Linked DNA regions of Homo sapiens: region 1 is linked to region 2. Evidence: promoter capture Hi-C in human tissues and cell types (Jung and others, 2019). All regions are on one chromosome and are shown on one strand. The core of a region is centred on a gene start or on the middle of the fragment in contact, and the rest is flanking DNA. Distances in the headings are between cores, read along the strand shown. Region 1 overlaps CBL (Cbl proto-oncogene). Region 2 holds the start of CBL (Cbl proto-oncogene).

Region 1 (3,060 bases), core at 73-2,572, 43 kb after region 2:
AAAAATAATAAAATACTTAGGAATAAAATTAAGGAGGCAAAAGACTTGTACACTGGAAACTACAAAACATTGCTGAAAGAAACTAAAGAAGACCTAAATAAATGGAGAGACATTCTGTGTTCATGGATTATAACTTAGAATTGTTAAGGTTGCAGTATTCCCCATGTTGATACACAGTCATTGCAATACCTATCAAAATTCCAGTAGCACTTTTTTCAGAAGCTGACTAGTGGATTTTAAAAGTCATAAAAAATCTTAAGGGACCTCAAATAGCCAAAACAATCTTGAACAAGAATAAAGTTGGAAGACTTGTATTTCTGATTTCAAAGCTTTACTGCAAAGCTGCAATAATCAAAACATTGTGGTACTGGTATAAGGATAGACATACAGACCAGTAGACTAGAATTGAGAGCCCAGAAATAAACCCTCATACATATGGTCAATCGATACTTTTTTGACAAGCTTCTCAATGGAGAAACAACAGTCTTTTCAACAAATGGTGCTGGGAAAACTAAATTATCACATTCAAAAGAATGAAGTTGGATCCTTTCCTTATGTTGCATATAAAAATCCTGCAGAAGGATGGGCCAAAAAAATGAAAACAAACAACTCTCAAAATGTATCAAAGACCTAAATTTAAGAACTAAAATACAAAATTTGTAGAAGAAACATAAGTGAAAATCTTCATGAATCTTGGATTAGGCAATGATTTCTTAAGTATGACACCAAAAGCATAAAGATAGATAAATCAGACTTCATGAAAATTAAGAACTTTGTTCATCAAAGGACATATTAAGGAAGTGAAAAGGCAGCACACAGAATGGGTCAAAATATTTACAAGTTATATATTTGATAAGGGATCAACATCCAGAACATGTAAAGAACTTCAAAACAACAACAAAACAAACCAATTCAAAAATGCTCAAAAGTTTTGAATAGATTTTTCTTCAGAGAAGATATACAGCTGTCCAATAAGCTCATGAAAGGATGCTCAACATCATTAAATCATTAAGGAAATGCAAATCAAAACCACAATGAGATACCACTTCACAGCTGTTAGGTGGATATTATTTTAAGAATAAAACCCTCATGCATTGGTGATAGGAATAGAAAATGGTACAGCCACTGTGGGAAACAGTTTGGCAGTTCTTTAGAAAGCTGAACATAGAATTACCATAGGATCTAGCAGTTCTTCTAGGTACATACCCCAAAGAATTGAAAGCAAGGACTTGAACAGATATTTGTACACCCATGTTCATAGCAGCAGTTTTCACAACAGCCAAAAAGTAGAAGCAGTTCAAGTGTTCAGCAGATGAGTGGGTGAAGCAAATGTGTTATAGCCATATGGTGGAATATTATTCACTCATAAAAAATGAAATTTTCGACTGGGCGTGGAGGTTCATGCCTGTAATCCCAGCACTTTGGGAGGCCAAGCAGGGCAGAACACTTGAAGTCAGGAGTTTGAGACCAGCCTGGCCAACATGGAAAAACCCCATCTCTACTGAAATACAAAAATTAGCTGGGCATGGTGGCACACGCCTGTAATCCCAGCTAGTTGGGAGGCTGAGGCAGGAGAACCGCTTGAACCCAGGAAGCAGGGTTCGCAGTGAGGTGAGACGCCACTGCACTCCAGCGTGGGTGACAGAGTGAGACTCGGTCTCAAAAAAAAAAAAAAAATGCTGTGGGCACATTATAGAGAATTGAAATCAAATAACAAAAGGGAAAGGAAAGTGACTAATATTGCTATTATTTTGGTACAGTTTCTTTCTTTCTTTCTTTTTTTTTTTTTAATTGAGACAGGGTCTCCCTTTATCTCCCAGGTGGTATGATCATGACTCACTGCAGTCTCAGCCTCCTGGGCTCAAGTATCGATCCTCCCACCTAAGCTTCCCAAGTTGCTGAGAATACAGGCACACACTACCATACAGACTAACTTATTTTTTTGTACAGATACAGCCTCATTATGTTGCCCAGGCTGGTCTCAAACTCCTGGGCTCAAGTGATCCTCCTACCTTACTCAGCTTCCTAGAGTGCTGGGATTTTAGATGTGAGCCACTGTGCCTGGCTTTTGTCTGCTAATTCTGTCATCTTTGTCACTCATAGATTTAATTCTATTGGTTTATTTTTATCCTCAGTAAGAGTCATATTTTTCTGTTTCAGTCCATGCTGGGCAATTTTTGAGTGGATGCCAGACATCGTTAATCTTACCTTGTTCTACACTGGATTCTTTTATATTATAAATACTCCTAAGCTGTGTTCTGGGACACAGCTATGTTACATGGAATAGTTTGATCCTTTTAAACCTTGTGAGGCAGGACCAAAATGACCTTTAATCTAGGGTAAATTTCCCCTGATGTCCATTGAATTGTAAGATTTTTTTCCTCTCTTGTCCTTGTGTGAGATCTAGGGATTATTCCCTCTACCCCTTTCAGGTGGTTCTTTCCCTAGCTTCAGGTATTTTCCTGTGTTGATCAGTGCTTAGCTGAAGACTTAGAAGGTCCCCTCTGTAGCTCTTCAAAGCTGGGCTTTCTTTATGCATCTCTCTCCTCTCTTGTATTTTGCACTGTGAACTCCAGATGCCTTGGCTTTCCCAGGCCCCAAATTCTGTCTTCTCAACCCAGAGTGACCGTCAAGTCTGCCTGAATTCCCTTTCTAGTGCTGAGACATGAAAACTCTCCAGGCAGTAAGTTAGATCAATCACAGGGCTTGCCTTATTTGTTTTCCTTTTTCAGGGGGTCCCTGTCCGCTATTGCCTGGTGTCCAGTTTGTGAAAATTATTTCAGGTGCACCAGCTCATGTCTGTAATCTCAGCACTTTCAGAGGCTGGAGGTGGGTGTATTCCTTGAGGCCAGGACTTTGAGACCAGCCTGGCCAACATGGTAAAACCCCGTCTCTACTAAAAATACAAAAATTAGCCGGGTGTGGAGGTGCGCGCCTGTAATTCCAGCTACTCAAGGGGCTGAGGCAGGAGTATCACTTGAACTTGGGAGGCAAAGGTTACAGGTAGCCAAGATCACACCACTGCACTACAGCCTGGGTAACAGAGCAAGACTCTGTCTC
Region 2 (2,732 bases), core at 24-2,523:
CCGGATAAATTTAACTCCCTAATCTGTCAAGGGCTTTGTGGAAGAGCCTGGAGGGGGATCGAAGGCGGAACTGATACTGACACACCTGGGTCTGCAAACTCCCAAAACTGAGGCTCAGAATTAGTAAATTAGGGCAGGGCACTTCCCTCTTTGGAAGGGAAGTTCCTATTTTCAAAGTTCTTCCAACGGAACTTTTACATTAGAGAAGTGTAATTGACTGAGAAGTGGAAGTGACCAGGAACAGCATTTCTGTTCCCTGGGCGGGAGAGAGAACCCCCTCGGGCGGAGCCAGCAGCAGGTCAGCTTCTGAGGGGGCCCTCATGCTGGCGGCGCCGACCTGTGGTGCAATGCTCTGAGTAGGAGAATCTTAAATACATGTTTGAGATTCAATTCCCAGAAACGTAACTAGTCTTCACAAGCCAAAAAAATAAAAATAAAAAATAAAAAAAGGAAGTGATTTCTTTTCAAGAGGTCAAAGGGCCTGGAAGAAGAGGTCCTGGCTTGAGTGTCTCAAGGCTTTCTGGGGCCTAATCCGGCTGGAATGGGCCGCAGCATTCATATTCCTGTCCTTGGTCGTGTCTTAATGAAGAATTGAAAATAATAAGGGGTGGAGAAATAACTTTCCTTTTTCTCCCACCATCCTCCCACAGTGTAAATAAACAAATAACTCTAAGCTCGATTTCCTCATTTGTCAGGGGTGGGGAAAGACTTGACATCAGGACTCTTCCATTCCATCGCCACCTGTCTTAATTTAAACATTCCCATGACCCACCCCAGAAGCGCCAACCTCCCGCCCACAAGGAGCATGGAAGTCTTGGTTTCTGGCTACTGCGCAGACTCCACCTTGGACCTACTCCCCAACCCCCCGCCGCTCCTTTCCCCGTTTCTCCAGCAGAGGGCGCAGGCCCAAAGGTTCCGCCGACCCCGCCCCAGCCTGGCCCCGCCCCGCCCCGGCGTAGGGGCGGGGAAGACGGGCACAGAAACCTGGCCGCGGCTTTCCGGGAGCTGTGGGCACGCGAGCTGCTCGAAGCCGGTGGCCCGGGGATCGTCGCTGCCCAGTCCGGCCGCGGCCGGCCGCTTCCCCGAGCTTACCAGTAAGCCGGTCCGCCTCCGGGACGCGCCCCGCCCGCCCCGGGCTCGCGCGCTCTGAAGGGGCGCGTCCCGCGCACTCCCGGCGCCGCCCACTCCCCTCCCCACGGCCGCTCCTCCCTCCGCCCGGATAGCCGGCGGCGGCGGCGGCGGCGGCGGCGGCGGCGGCCGGGAGAGGCCCCTCCTTCACGCCCTGCTTCTCTCCCTCGCTCGCAGTCGAGCCGAGCCGGCGGACCCGCCTGGGCTCCGACCCTGCCCAGGCCATGGCCGGCAACGTGAAGAAGAGCTCTGGGGCCGGGGGCGGCAGCGGCTCCGGGGGCTCGGGTTCGGGTGGCCTGATTGGGCTCATGAAGGACGCCTTCCAGCCGCACCACCACCACCACCACCACCTCAGCCCCCACCCGCCGGGGACGGTGGACAAGAAGATGGTGGAGAAGTGCTGGAAGCTCATGGACAAGGTGAAAGGCCGGCTGAGCGCCCGCTGTTGCAGGGTGGGCGTGGGCGGAGGGCCGCGGGGAGGGGAACGAGCGGACGGAGGAAGCGGGGGAGGGGACGGGTCTGGTGAAGCCGGGGAGGCGCGGAGCCGGGGTGACCGGCCGGGGGCGTGGGGGCAGGGACGAGGCCGGGAGGGTGGGGGGCGGCGTGGGGGAGGGGCTGCCGTTGGGAGTCGGGGAACGCTGGGGTGCCGCGTTTGGGGTAGCCAGACAAAGATGGAGTGGGGGCTGGGGCGAAGGTTAACTGGGAAGTCAGTGGGGCGGAAGTACAATGAGGGGTGCGGAGTTTGGGGCTCTGTGCAGGGTGTAGGGATGTAGGTCACGGAATTGGCCTGGGAGGTTAGCAGGGAGGGGGTGAGGAAGAGTGATGTACCGGCTGGGGCTCTTGGCTGGGTGAGATCTGACTAGGGAATTAGGTTCATGGGCTCTGACTGAGGAACCTGGCTGGGGTCAGGACAGCTCTCAGGGAAGCTGTGCTCTGGGTGAGAGTATAGTCCTTTCTCATTAAGATGTAACACGAAGATAAAAGACATATTGATGTTTAAGTGAGGCAAGGAAAGAACTTTCCTCCCCATCTAGCGCCGGCTCAAGTTTTTTGTTACCCTCAGAAACACTGGATGTGATCCATTGCTGGTGCTGAGATATGCACTGATTAAACCACAAGTTCTGGTTAGAACTATTATCTTCTGAAAGATGGACTGGCTGAGCCTGTTAAGCAGCAGCAGATTCTGACTTCTTAATAACTTCCTCCCTACTACATCGCTTGAGCTGGGTTCTTTTTTTCTGGTAACGGTTCTGACTCCTTATTACAGGTCCTGACTTTAAACTTGTTCGTTGAGCTTCTTTGATTACGCTTTTTTGTTTGTTTGCTTTTTGCAAGTGCGAACAAAAATAACTCCTTTATATTTAGCCACTAAGTTTGTCATTTGGGAGAATTTTACTTCCTTATAGTTGTGTCTATATGATGAAATGTAGTCAGTCTCAAGTATTTAACTGTTTAAGCAGTCGGACGCTTTGTCAGAATTCAATACGTTTTCTTGGTATTTTTCATATTCTTTAATTAATTACTTTGACAAAATTCATATTGCGTATGAAAAGTGATTAGAAGTATCTGGCACGTTTTAAGAGAATGGTGTTATTTCCTCCAGG

What was found. Contacts are between HindIII fragments. The study calls those that stand out against the background at their distance.
Region 1: a contact is called between a fragment that was not itself captured here and the fragment with the promoter of CBL in region 2, in 4 of the 25 tissues and cell types used here (IMR-90 fibroblasts, aorta, liver and 1 more).

The regions. Positions count from the first base shown.
Region 1 is chr11:119,247,891-119,250,950 of GRCh38, forward strand. The region is part of intron 2 of CBL (Cbl proto-oncogene); the gene reads left to right. Among named protein-coding and RNA genes, the nearest start is that of CBL, 43 kb to the left of the region's middle. The HindIII fragment of the contact is 3,159 bases long and covers 1-2,902 here.
Region 2 is chr11:119,205,066-119,207,797 of GRCh38, forward strand. CBL (Cbl proto-oncogene) reads left to right here and starts at 1,274. Exons shown (of 16, transcript NM_005188.4): 1 at 1,274-1,547. The coding sequence starts at 1,353. RefSeq lists silencers at 782-851, 892-1,281, 1,352-1,541, 1,732-1,791. The HindIII fragment of the contact is 26,271 bases long and covers 1-2,732 here.